2 separate regions of the Homo sapiens genome follow, and region 2 is linked to region 1. Evidence: promoter capture Hi-C in 16 types of primary human blood cells and fetal thymus (Javierre and others, 2016). All regions are on one chromosome and are shown on one strand. The core of a region is centred on a gene start or on the middle of the fragment in contact, and the rest is flanking DNA. Distances in the headings are between cores, read along the strand shown.

Region 1 (7,045 bases), core at 1,468-3,967:
TGGGTGTGGTGGCGCATGCCTGTAATCCCAGCTACTTTGGGAGGGTGAGACAGGAGAATCGCTTGAACCCAGGAGGCAGAGGTTGCAGTGAGCTGAGATTGTGCCATTGCACTCTAGCCTGGGTGACAGAGCAAGACTCTGTTTCAAAAGAAGAAAAAAAGAAAAAAGAGCACTATGGGAAGACTATGGCGCCACACTTGGCAATAATTTACTTCAGTGCCTACAAGCGATGCAGTCCTCACAGAAGAACACAAGGGCAGGTGCCAGAGTCTGTTCCTTGGGGCAAATCTGGGCATCAGTAATGGCTGGCTATGCGAGCCTGGAGAGGGCACTGCTTTCTGTGATCAGTACTCTCATTAAAATGGGAAAGTCAGAAATGAAGAGTTCTGAGGATTAACGATTAGGCTGCCTTGAGAAACTCAGAGCAGAAACCTATGTTGGGTATTACCCTCAGGAACAGAGTTAGGGATAAACAATTCATGGTTCTCTGACTGGGGTCAGGCCATTTATTCACACAATTTTGTACAAGGGTTGCTGTTACTGTAGACCATGGCTCAAAGATCATTTCCAAAAGAATGTTTATTGGGTGTTTACTAGGTAGCAGTGCTGGGGTTACAAAAATAAATATGATCCAGCCAGGCGCAGTGGCTCATGCCTGTAATCCCAGACTTTGGGGAGGCCAAGGCAGGTGGATCACTTGAGGTCAGGAGTTCAAGTCCAGCTTGTCCAACATGGTGAAACCCCGTCTCTACTAAAAATATAAAAATTAGCTGGGCATGGTGGCATGTGCTGTAATCCCAGCTACTTGGGAGGCTGAGGCACAAGAATTGCTTGAACCCGTGGGGCAGAGGTTGCGGTGAGTTGAGATCGCACCACTGTACTCCAGCCTGGGCAACAGAAAGAGACTCCATCTCAAAAAAATAAATAAATAAGATCCATTCACACAAAGGATGACTATTTCAATCCTAGCAAGAGCTCATTAAATGTTAACAAATCTTCTTCTTCTGTAAATGGCTACTTCCTAAAACAAATAGTTCAAGGAACCACAGGCTTAAGAAATAAATCTGAGTTGCATTCTAATGGAAGGAAATAGTTTTATGCAAATCATATGCATAAGTAAACACAAGTTCCCAGAAGGAAATACAGTATAAAAACAAAACAAATACCACCACTCATGAACTTTGCCAGTTACTAGCAGAGTTCAAGATGCCAATACATAGTTACTAGCAGAGCTCAAGATGCCAATACATATACACTAAAAAGGTAAAGCTAAATAGAAAAACACTCCAAATGAAATGGGAAAAGCCTTTGACTGCAGAGCCACTCAAGTGTAAGCAAGATGCAAACAATAACAAAACCCACCTCTAAATAATTCCTTATCTGCTTCGGTATCAACCAGGGTAATCTGGGTTATCAAATTCTAAGCGCTAGGCCAGGGCAGCACCTCTTGAATGAGTTTTAGGACATTCAGAAGAAAACAGTATTCTATGCCTTACTGTACTTTATAGATCTGATATCTAAGGGACTTATTCTGTTGTAAAGAAAACTGCCATTTATTTAAAATAAATTTAAAAATATTTCAGAAGAAAAAAGTGTTTATAAACATTCTTGGCAGAGAAGTCACAAACTGGCCGGGTCTCCACCACTCCTCGCTACATTCAAATTACTGTTCAGAGCCTAAAGACACTCAAGTTTGTCAGCTCTGGTAGAGTTTCCCACTGGCAATAATAATTATTTTTCCTGCATGAGTTTCAACACTAAAAGTGTCTTATAGCCAGAGGTGTTAAGATACCAAATCTTTGTGTGTGAGCAAATCTTGTATGACCTGGAGTTCTTGTGCAGTTGTCACCATCAGCACCCAGCCAGCTTCTTATATTCTCACTGCTTTTATGACCTACTGTTATGATTAAAAACCAACCAACCCAACAACAACCAAGCCCCAAGTTTCTTCACTTCTCTAAGCATCCGAGGGTGACCGGCCGCAGGAGGACCCGGGCCGGAGGGGAACCTGCGGGGGGATGACCGGCCGGAGGGGAACCTGCGGGGGGTGACCGGCCGGAGGAGGACCGGGGCGGGGGTGACCGGCCGGAGGAGGACCGGGGCGGGGGTGACCGGCCGGAGGAGGACCCGGGCAGGGGTGACGGGCCAGATGGGGACCCGGATGGTGGTGACCGACCGGAGGGGGCAGCCAGGCCGGGGGTGACCGGCCGGAGTAGGGAGCCAGGCCGGGGGGGTGACTGGCCGGAAGGGGAGCTGACGCCGGGGTGACTGGATGGAACGGGGAGACTGCAGCCCCTCGCGGACATATGTCCGCCGGGGTTCTGGACACCTGTCCTACTGCCCGCCAGGAGATCCTTACGGTCGATGCAGGAGGTCAAGCTCCGGTGGCCGGTCTGGACGAGGACCCGGAGACCGCCGGGCAGGCAGCCGAGGCGCGCCCCGAAACGCCGGCAGCCGCTCCACAGCATAGCCGCCGCAGCTCCGCGTTCAGCTAAGAGTCTGAACGCCTTCGACCTCCGTTGCGCTCGCACTGGCGGGACCTGCGACCCGGCAACGCCTGTCCCACTGCACCCTGGGGGTTGTAGTCCTCCCACGAGCCCTAACAACCCAGGTGCCAGGCGGGCTCCCAAGGGGACAGGACTACAATTCCCAGAAGTCCTCGGGGCCTCGGCGCCGCAGAGATGCACCGCCCACCAAGCGCCGCGGGGGTCGCGCTGCACAGCCTGCGGCGCAGCGGAGGCGGACCGCAGTCGAGTCTGCAGAGTGTTGGGTCTGTAGCCAGCAAATTACTTCATCATCTAGATTATCCATTCAGTTGATCCTAATTAGCAAGGATAACAAGGTAACACAAGGCTTACTTATATTCACCCAACAAAAGTGTCTCTGTGGAGCCACTTCCCAGTGAACTACATACTGAGATAGGGGTTCCTGGATGAGAAGGACCAAGGACAGAACCGAGAAGAGTTTAGGGGCAGGTTATGCGAGATGGAAATGGCGCAGATAACGGAGGGAAGGATTTGAGGGCTCAAACGTAGGCGTCTGTGTTTCGCAAAAGTTGGAGACGTTCTAGGCTGCCTCTCGTTGCCTCCATCTCGCTCTGCGCGGGTTTTGGAGGACATTAGCATTCTTTCTTGTATCTCCGTTGATTCCAGAATCGTCCGCACTAAAGTCCCCTGCAGCGTGACCATGTCGAGACCCCGGAAGAGGCTGGCTGGGACTTCTGGTTCAGGTGAGCTGCCCCTAGGCTGCACAAAGGCAGCCCAAGAAAAAACTTTTCTCGAAGAGCCTGTTTAGTACTCATTTTTCACTCCCTGCTTTTTGAGAACCCTTTGTGATATTTTTACTCCATTATCCTTAATCACTCTCCATCTTCTTTACTTGTCTCACCAAGCTCCTACCTACAGTTCCTTTTTCTTGTTTATTCAGGCAATGGTTGTTGTGCACAAAGACTCTTTGAGATACCAGGTGGCGTGCTAAAGAATATAAAGCGCCTGCTTGCGGGTGAACTGCAAACAGATGTGATGGGGTTCAGGAAAATGGATTGTTAAGTTTATGGAGGGAGGAATCACGGGGAAGGCCTCGAGAAGGATGTGGAATTTGAGCCCAGCCTTGAAGAATGGGAGACTTTCCACGGGCAAAGTTTAGTACTAAGAAAACGTGATGTCGTTTTTATAATCACAAAGATGGATGGCATTCTAAGTGGATGGAGGAGGAGGAACATTGGAAGGTACAGAAAGTACCTCTTTTGGGAATGACAGGGGTTCCAGATATACTACAGCACATTGCAGTTATTTATCAATATGTGGTGTTTGCAGTGGGCCTGTTAACTCCTAAGGGGCCATTAGGAAACTAGGTTAGGAAGGTATGCTGGGTTCAGAGCATTAGACAGCCATAAATGGTATTTAATGACAATTGATGTAGGGACTTTGACTAAATTCAGAGGCAGTATAGTCATTAAGTAGCTTCAGATAGACCTCAGTGACAGGTGCTGACCTCATATCTTGATTCCACCATTACTGGATGTGTGATCTGGAGCATGCTTCCCAGATGAAGAGTAGAACATCTCACAGGTTATGTAGATTAACCGAGTTAGGGTTAGGGTAACACATAGACCTTGGGCCCTGTCATATAGTAATTTAACAACTTAGCTACTGAATGCCTACTGTGTTCCAGGCACATTCTGATTGTCTTGGGATGAAATCGAATCATCACCATTTTTCTACAATGTCCTGAATGAACTGTTTCTTTCAACTTTTATTGGCACCTTCAAGGAGCAGAAAGGAGATGGGCCAGGAGCCACAGTGAGCAAGAAGGAAAGACGTATGAGATGAGAATAATAATGCTTTTATTATGCACTTATTGTAATGCCAGGCATTGTCTAGGCCCTTTGTATTACCTCATTTAAGCTTCAAAATAGTTGCAAGTAGGTGCTCAGTTTCCTCTTTCCTATGCAAAGGCATAGAAGAGAGAGTGAGGAAAGGAAAACATGTATTGACTACTGTCCGGACCTTTAATCCTGAACAACCCTGTAAGGTGTTCTTACCCTATTGAATAGATAATCCAGAAGATACCCTGTAAGGTAGGTATTCTTGTCTAATTTTTATAGATAAGGAAAGCTTCTTAACAGTAAGATTAAGTTCCTACAGCTGGTAATGGATCCATGATTTGAATCCAGGTCTGACTCCAAAGCTAAGCTTTTTCCATTATGAAACATTGCCTTTAACAAGCATGATCTTTTCTTTTTGCTTCTCCTATTGCAGACAAGGGACTATCAGGAAAACGCACCAAAACTGAGAACTCAGGTGAGGCATTAGCTAAAGTGGAGGACTCCAACCCTCAGAAGACTTCAGCCACTAAAAACTGTTTGAAGAATCTAAGCAGCCACTGGCTGATGAAGTCAGAGCCAGAGAGCCGCCTAGAGAAAGGTGTAGATGTGAAGGTGAGACCCTTGACCTGTCTCCAGTCCCTTCATGGTGTTTTTTAAATGAGAAGTGAATATGGGACACCATAGGGTTCCATCCCCAGCTTCTTATCTTTGAAGGGAAGGAAAAAGGTAAAAATGAATAAAATCGGCAGGGTTTATTATCATCAGCTGGTTTGTGAACCTGTGTATCTAGGGCAGGGGTTGGCTAACCTTTGCCACAAAGGGCCAGATAGTAAATTTTGTAGGCTTGTGCGTGTTACAGTCTCTGTTGCAACCCTGCCCTTGTAGCAAGAGAGTGGCCACAGATAATAAGTAAACAGCTGTGGCTGTGTTCAAGTTCAACTTTATTCACAAAATCCAGCATGGGGTTAGATTTGTCCTGAAGGCTATAGTCTGCCAACCTCAATCTTAGGTTACCTTTCTCTGAACACCTGCCATGCTCCTAGGTGTCTCCCTGCCAACAGTTGATGTATATTTCAGGGAATTTAATATAGCCTGGGAAAAATATAAGCAGAACTATTATAAATATAAAGTAAAATGCAAGTAACTAGCAGATTACTTTATCACCTAGATTATTCATTCAGCTAATCCTCATAATTAGCAAGGATAACAAGGTAACACAAGGCTTACTTACATTCACCCAGCAAAAGTGTCTCTGTGGAGCCACTTCCCGGTGAACTACATACTTCCTCTATAGCCAGTGGCCCCTCTCATTTTAGGGGAAGGAACTGTCTGCTTCCATATGTGCTTACTAACTGGCCAAGGATTGTTTAATGATTGAATTTATTTCCTCTTGCCTAGTTCAGCATTGAGGATCTCAAAGCACAGCCCAAACAGACAACATGCTGGGATGGTGTTCGTAACTACCAGGTAAGAGGGTAAGGAGGAGGTCGCCTGAGACCCAGGTGGGATGAATGCCTGCCTCCTCCTCATGACGTACTCAGTAGCAGAACCTCTTGGCCAAGGTTGCTTTTTCTCAGAAGCAAACCTGATAATGTATTAAAAAATGCCTTAAGTACTCTGCATGAAATTTTCAATTGGCCTGTGTTCTGGCCAATGTCCTGGTAAAAGTCTGGGTGTCCTGGCAAAGGGGAAGGACTTTCTAATGAATTGAGGAGTTGCAGACAAGAATCACCCATCTATTAAAAGCAGACTTGATTTCTGCTAAAAGCTAGTACTTTCCAGCTGGTGGGAGGATAGTTACTCTTTCTTCTCCCGGGACAGGCTCGGAACTTCCTTAGAGCCATGAAGCTGGGAGAAGAAGCCTTCTTCTACCATAGCAACTGCAAAGAGCCAGGCATCGCAGGACTCATGAAGGTTAGTTGGGCAGGTTTTGGTGTGAATCCCTTTTCCTCCAGGGAGACTAACTTAAGTAGATATAAAGGGATATACCTTAATTAGGCAACAAAAAAGTACACTCCCCCCCACCCCATCCCCCTTTTACAGGAATAGGGAAAAACTGCCCTGGCCCCTTCCTATCTGATAACTCAAAGCAGGCCTTCATTCAGGTCCGACTAGCACAGACTTCACTCCACCTCTAAGTCTTGATCTCACTCGAAAACAGGCCTGATGATAGCTCCTCCAAGCTTATCAGGATAAAATTATTAACTGTGCAGAGGGGAAAAAAACAGTGGTACCAGTAATAACCTTTGCCATTTGTTTTTAGAGCATGTTTTTAAGACTTTTGTAAAAACAGAGTTGATTTCCTAGTCTATATATTAGACTATATATTGTTTCCAAATATCTGAGCCCCCATTGGCTGTACAGCAAGGCAGATGGGTTAAGAATGTGCAGGGAAGAAATGAAAGTTGGATATGGATTAAAAGATTGGCTGTGGAGCTGACTGCAGGCAGATGATTCAAAGCTTTTGTTTTGGTTTCAGATCGTGAAAGAGGCTTACCCAGACCACACACAGTTTGAGAAAAACAATCCCCATTATGACCCATCTAGCAAAGAGGACAACCCTAAGTGGTCCATGGTAAAGACTATGCTTTCTATTTCATGACAGGGGAAGGATGAACCAGGGGAAGAAGACGGTTGGGGTGACTGTAGGTCAAGGTACACGGCCCAGCACTTACTCAGATGAGGTGATACTGAGATAGGAGCTTCCTGTGGGCGGTT
Region 2 (7,045 bases), core at 3,053-5,552, 4.2 Mb after region 1:
GTTTACAATGGTTCATAATATATCACAACTTGTATGAAATTAGTTCCTTTTAAGGGAAACACTCATACCAGGTTTTGGTAATGGGAAAGACAGGTAGACATGAGTAAAAAGAAATCTGCATCCAAAAGGGAAATATGAACCACACTGACAGGACAGAGCAGTAGGCTTAGATAGGATGGGCAGACTCCTTCCCCTGGTCGAGCTGGGTGATGTTCAACCCTCGGCCTCTACTGACTCCCTTTTTAGGTAGGGATAAGAATACCAAATTCACGAGACTGTTAGGGACTTATGGAGATAAATTACCCAAAGACTTTGTTTTGTTTTTCTCTCCTTGCACATTAGAATCATCCGGGGAGCTTTTGAAACTGAGCATCCCAGAGGTACTCAACGACAATCTCTGGGGTTAGGGCCTAGAAATCATACACGAGTGTGTTTCGCAAAGTAAAAAGCACTATCCACATTTGGTTTTACTACTGTACTGTTTAGCATCTAGCACAGAACCATGTAACAGGTTTAATAAATACTAGTAGGATGAATTACAAATGAAAGTCAGCTAATTTTCTAATCTTCATCTTTAAAAAAATAGATTAGTTATGTTTTAAAAGATCTCATTTTGAAAAACAGATCTTGGCCGAATGTGGTGGTATGCACTGTACTCCTAGATACTCGGGAGGCTGAGGCAGGAGGATCACTTGAGCCCAGGAGTTTGAGGCCGCAGTGAGCCATGGCTGCGCCACTGCACTCCAGCCTTGGTAAGAGTGAGACCCTGTCTCAAAAAATAAAAAATAAAAATAAAGACTTCACGATGCTTAGGTAAGAAAAATTCCCTCAGCAAAAGCAATTATTAGTTGTACTTGACACAAAGGACTGGAACTCATTTCTGCTTGAATGTGCCTACATAGTCCACTTTCCATCTTAGGCCATAAATCAAGGTACAATACACTAAATTTAATTAAACTTCAAGGTAATCTAGTTTATCTCATTAAAAATCAACCCATGAAAATTGAATTATAGGCAATTTAGAATTCTCTCTCAACTGGCCCCTCCATGGAAACTACAATTACTGTACAAAGATTTACCCCTACTTTTTGTCACACGGAAAACATTATTTTCTTTGAGTAGTTCATGTTAGCATAATTCGAAATAATCATTGTTAGGTGCTGGCTTCAATATGCAGTATGTGCCATTTTTATAAAATTTATGTACATGACCTATCTATTAACAGAAGGGTATATACAATATTACAGTAAGGTTTCCCTGGGGAATAAGATTTTAGGTCATTTTTCACTTCTTATTGGTTATCTGTACTTTTAAATTTCTTACAATGAATATGTACTACCTATAGAATTCTTCTTCTGTTATTTTAGAAAGAAAATCCAAAAGCCTCAAAATTTAGTAAGGGTAAACAGAATTAAACAATCTTGAAAGGGGCCAGGTGTGGAGGCTCACGCCTGTAATCCCAGCACTTTGGAAGGCCAAGGCAGGCAGATCACAAGGTCAGAAGTTTGGAACCAGCCTGGCCAATATGGTGAAACCCTGTCTCTACTAAAAATATAAAAATGAGCCAGGCATGGTGGTGGGCTCCTGTAGTCCCAGCTACTCTGGAGGCTGAGGCAGGAGAGTCGCTTGAACCTGAAAAACGGAGGTTGCAGTAAGCCGAGATCATGCCAGTGCACTCCAGCCTGGGCGACAGAGTGAGACTCCAACTCAAAAAAGAAAAACAAAACAACAACAACAACAACAAAACATGTTTTCAAATGCTATAAAGAACATGATTGGGTCAACAAACTAACTAGAAAACCGACAGCAGATAAGATCCAAGTATTGTATCAATGTTAAATTTCATTAGGTTGATGGCTGTACTAAGCCTATGTAAGACAATGTCTTTGGCTCTTAGAAAATATATACTGAAGTTCTCAGGGGTAAAGGGGATGGGGGACGACGTATGCAACTTACTCTCAAATAATTTGGCAAAAAATGCAGTAGTAAAGCAAATGTGACTAGAAGAAATGTTAACAATTGGTGAATCTGAGTAAAGGGTAAGAAAATTGTACAATTTTTGCATTTTTTATAAGATTAAAGTTATTTCTTTTTTTTATTCTTGTTTTCTTGAGATGGAGTCTCGCTCTGTTGCCCAGGCTGGAGTGCAGTGGTGTGATCTCGGCTCACTGTAACCTCCACCTCCCAGATTCTCCTGCCTCAGCCTCCTGAGTAGCTGGGATTACAGGCGCACGCCATCTCGCCCAGCTAATTTTTGTATTTTTAGTAGAGACGGAGTTTCACCATGTTGCTCAGGCTGGTCTCGAACTCCTGACCTCGTGATCCACCCACCTCGGCCTCCCAAAGTGCTAGGATTACAGGCGTGAGCCACCGCGCCTGGTGATTAAAGTTATTTCTAAGTAAAACATTTTTAATTGAAAAAGTTTAAAAATCAACACATTCAAAATTGTTCTAACAAAAATACTTAAGAGCATGTTGGGCCAACTTCCAGCAAGACTTTATGTGGAAAAATATAGGAACATATTAAAAAATTCTGCTAATAAAAACATATGCAGGACCAACTTTAAGCAAAATTTTAAATCAGCACCATCTAACAGAAATACAATGTGAGCCACATACATAGTATTAAATTTTCTAGGAACCATATTAGAGTGAAAAGAAACAAGTGAAATTAATTTTAATGTTTTATTTAGCCCATGTCTAAAGTATTGTTTCAATTTAGTCAATACAAAAATTGAGATTTTAATTCTTCTGTATTAAATCTTCAAAATCTGATGTGTATGTTACACTTCCAGTACATCTCAATTCAGAAGCTAAATTTTCATAGGAAATACTTGATCTACATTTAGATTTCATAAAATGTACAGTTTAAAAGTAAATTCGCATAACCAAATTATTTCAGTTAAAAGTTTTCCAACCACTGAATCAGATTTTAAATGTAAACTTAAATTAATTAAAATTAAATAAAATGAAAAATTCACTCCTCATTCACACTAGTCACCCTACAGACTCAATAACCACATGTGGCTTGTGGCTACACCCTGGGAAAGCCTGGCTTTAGATGGTAAAACAAATTCCCTCTACAAAAGGAGGAACTAATTGATAAAACTGAAGTTTATCGTATTTATCAAAAGATTTTTAAAACATAGTTATGATAAAAATAACGGGCCGGGCGCTGTGGCTCACGCCTGTAATCCCAGCACTTTGGGAGGCCGAGGCAGGTGGATCACCTGAGATCAGGTGTTCCAGACCAGCCTGGCCAACATGGTGAAACCCTGTCTCTACTAAAAATACAAAAATTAGCTGGGCGTGGTGGCAGGCGCCTGCAATCCCAGCTACTTGGGAGTCTGAGGCAGGAGAATCGCTTGAACTCGGAAGGCGGAAGTTGCAGTGAGCCCAGAGATCCCACCATTGCACTCCAGCCTGGGACAGAGCGAGACTCCGTATCAAAAAAAAAAAAAAAAAAAAGACGATATTCCTATCAGAAGCACACCAAGGTTTCTCTCCAAGGTACAATTACACATCTCCCATACCACCTGTCAGAAACACCAACACAAAGCCTTCTCTACTCTGCCTCAGTTGACATCCTTTAATTTGGGTTTGAGTTTCCAGAAAACTGGCAATCAAATGGCCTTCTTTCTTTCAAATGTGACAGAACAAACTCAAGTTCCGGTTCTCAGGAGCCTAGTCATCCACTGCACAGTATGCGGGGTTTCAGCACAATACTGTCTCAGTCCCAAATGGGAGCATGCACACAGGAGAACTTGTCTCGGATTTAAGAGAGGAAGTGACCCTGAGTCCAGAGGTGAGCTTTTTCTTTTTAAACAGGTGTAAGAGATTAATTCAGTCAACACCAAGCAACACTAAAGATTTGCCAATCAATAATTCTGTGCCAAGCAACTTGATCAGGGATTTGGCCAGAATCCCTTTCGCTAATCTCAATCAGGGCCTTCCCAAAGACATCCTGATTTAGGCCACTCTCATCTAAATTAAGCTTCGACAGTCCCTTGCCTGACAGCAAATAAACAAAATCAAATTATATTCATATGAATAAAATTCTGATAGCTTGACAAAAGGCCCCTTGAAAGATCATTTAGTAAGTGTGAGCAAAAATACAGCTCCAAAGAACAGGAGTTACCATAAAACCATTTTTCAGAAATGTTTAATTCCTACTTTCTTCAACCATACTTTTCAACTGAACAACGCTGTGGCTAACAATCAAATTTAACACACAACAATGAATTCTCATATTATTTTTTCCCGCTACACAAGTATTAACGAATTCTTTAAAACTGCTGAGTCTTCTACTGTGAATTCACTAATGCCTCAAATTAGTCATAGCAGTGGGAAGTGGAGTGCGAGTGTGAACGATGGTTTCTGACACCCGACCCACTAGTGAAGTCCCATCTTCCATACGAAAGCCTTTATTTTTTCTTCCCATCTCACTCACCTAGCTGTTTTCATGCGACATATCAGGGATCACAGATACAACTCTGACCATTGTGTGGACACACTGAAACAATCGCAATCCAAAATCCTCTGTAGATAAACGTTAACTATTTCTCTTTAAAGCTGAACTCCTTTCTTACCCTCACAGTCACAAAGCTTTAAACTGGATGAATACAAAGGTGTTAAGCCGTTCCATCAGAGAGGCTTTTTATTAGATTTATTTTTACCCGTGGAAATACTTGAACATTCTGTAGAAGTAAATATATTCTAAACCTGAGGTCTTTAAAAGAAAGCTCTCAATTAATGCCCAATCAAATCCAGTCTTCAGGTCTCTCTGAAATTAGCTAAGTATGCAGAAACCAGTTGTAATTTTTAAAAGAGCGAAGAGGGAGAAGAAATAAACGACACCAGAACTACACATTCCAGACCAGCAGTTCAAGCACCACTTCGAGAAGGGAAGTAAAGATCAAGCTCGCCGTCTCCCTCGGCCACAGCAGGGCTCCTCCAAGGCTGCCCGCTCCGGCCCGCACCGCGGACCCCGCCGCCCCCGCCCCCTCCCGCGGCCTCCCCAACCCCCGGCCCTGCCGCTTCGCCTTTCTCGCAGCGGGGATGCTCAGGGTGCGACCTCGAAGCACAACCACTGATGGAATTCTGACACCCGAAGAGGACGATTTTTCCAACAGTTTACACGCCTTCGCGGGCACCTTCCCTACTCACTGAAACCCTCACGAAAGCGGTCAACGCACCCAGAGCGGGTTTCCTCGGTCTACGGACGCAGGCAAACAGCGCCACTTAAAAAATGCGCGTCCGCGACCCGGCCCCAGGCGGCAGAGGGAGCAGCGGGCGGCCTGGCGCGGGAGCTCCCCCGGGGCTCGCAGCATCCCTGCCGCGCGCGAAGGCCGGGGCCGCGTCCACCTGGCAACAAAGGCGAAGCCCGCCGCTCGCAGGTGGGAGGCCCGGAGCCGAGGCCCCGGTGCCGCGCGAGGGAGCGTACGGGGTCCGCGCGGGGCCGCCCCTGGAGAAAGCCCAGCCGCGGACTCCGGCGGGAGAGGAGCGCCCTGGCATTGTCCCGGGGGAGGGCGGGGCGGGCGCCCGGGGGCACTGGGTCCCCGGAGGAGGTGGCGGCGCCGCGGGCGGGTTGGGGGCTGGGTCGGCCGAGGCGGACGGCCGCCCCCAGCAGCCCCGACGCCTTTCATTTGGCCTCTGCGGCGGCTGAGGCAGCCCGACCTCCAGCGCTAAGCACTGCGCCAAGCAGGGACGGGCGGGGGAGGGCGCGCCAGACCCGCCGCAGAGCCGGACCCCCGGCGCCGCACCGCCGGCCCGCCCTGCCGCGGACCCCGCTGCCCGCCCGCAGTCCGCGCTCCTCCGGCGGGCGAAGGAGACGACTCTCCGGCGTTCGCCCGGTCCCCACCTCGATGTAGCCGGCCAGCGCCAAGGCAGGCGCCGTGAGCCCCACCAGCAGCAGAAGCAGGAGCCTGCCCGTGGCTGCGGCGGCCGCGGTCCCGGTGGCCGCCATCCCTCGCCGGGTCGCTCTAGCGCGCGGCTCTCAAGCTCACACACTCGGACTCCTCGCTTAGCACACCGCGACCCAGAAGCATCTAAAGCCAGTTCGCCGCCGCCCCGGGGGTTTTACACCAACCGGAACTGACTTCATATTACCACGCCCTCCTTCTGCGGCTCCCAATGCCGGCCCGCAGAACCCCTCAAGACCCCGCCCCCTTGCGGTCCAGACCCAATCAGGAGATGGAAGAGCCTGCTCCTCCCGCCCGGTCCAACCGCGCGCCCCCCGCCCGGCCCCGCCCCCGGCCGCGGATGGCCCCGCCCCCGCTCCGGACCCTGTGGCCGCCAGGCGCGGGGGCGTGCGCGCGGCGGGTCTGGGGCCGCAACCCTGTGGGCGCGGGGCTGGCTCTGGCCTCCGCCCCCCGGCGCGGTTATCTGTCCCTGCTGCGCTGGTCCGTCAGCCTTCAGCCTCCCGATACGGGCACGCCCCGCTCCCCTGCCCCTGCTGGGCATTCTTCAGACTCCTTTGGGTACCGCCCTCTTTTTGATTCTGGAAATGGTTTTATTAAAAACAGGATGAATTAGGAGTCCGGGACGGTCTGCCAAGGGCCGTCCCCCGAGGCAGGGGGAGGACCGCAGGAGGCAGCCATCGTCCTCCCCCGAGCCCTACTCAGGGCGCGCCTCTCCCGCCCTGCTCCGCCCAGGCCTCTCCGCCGGGTCCTCGCCTCTGAGTCCGGCCGCGCTCCGCACCCTTGGCCTCCGGTCTTTAGGCCTCTTGCCGACCCTTCCTTCCCAGCAGTTGCCCAGGCAGGGATAGAGACCAGGGGTGCAAGAACCACGCCGGCCTCACAGCCCAGGCCCCCTTCCTCGTGTGTTTTAGGAAGAGATCACGCCGCTTCTTCGGTTGAGACGCACTAGCGGGAGACCTGCTACTCTGCCTTCCTGCTCCGCGGCATTGCCACTTCAGTAGAGAAAAACGTCCTGCTGCCCCATTTAGCAATTGGCACAGCCTCGCCACCGCCAGGGCTCCGCTGGCCTTGTTTCCTTTCAGTCGCCTGTGAGTTAGGTACTGCCTTCTGAGAGACCTGGACTAGTC

Evidence for each region. Contacts are between HindIII fragments. The CHiCAGO score rates a contact against its expected background, and 5 or more counts as called.
Region 2: a fragment that was not itself captured here is called in contact with the fragment with the promoter of THYN1 in region 1 in 1 of 17 cell types (naive CD8 T cells); the score reaches 5.2 in naive CD8 T cells.

The regions. Positions count from the first base shown.
Region 1 is chr11:134,249,024-134,256,068 of GRCh38, reverse strand. It overlaps THYN1 (thymocyte nuclear protein 1), which reads left to right and starts at 2,717. Exons shown (of 7, transcript NM_014174.3): 1 at 2,717-3,229; 2 at 4,761-4,939; 3 at 5,726-5,794; 4 at 6,149-6,241; 5 at 6,807-6,902. The coding sequence starts at 3,187. It overlaps ACAD8 (acyl-CoA dehydrogenase family member 8), which reads right to left and starts at 2,501. Exons shown (of 11, transcript NM_014384.3): 1 at 2,360-2,501. The coding sequence starts at 2,468. RefSeq lists an enhancer at 2,587-2,956. The HindIII fragment of the contact is 5,608 bases long and covers 1-4,408 here.
Region 2 is chr11:130,068,898-130,075,942 of GRCh38, reverse strand. APLP2 (amyloid beta precursor like protein 2) reads right to left here and starts at 6,049. Exons shown (of 17, transcript NM_001142276.2): 1 at 5,861-6,049. The coding sequence starts at 5,965. LOC107984432 (a long non-coding RNA gene) reads left to right here and starts at 6,294. Exons shown (of 2, transcript XR_001748444.2): 1 at 6,294-6,479; 2 at 6,830-7,045. RefSeq lists silencers at 5,161-5,620, 5,691-5,820, 6,211-6,440 and enhancers at 6,357-6,857, 6,858-7,045. The HindIII fragment of the contact is 611 bases long and covers 3,997-4,607 here.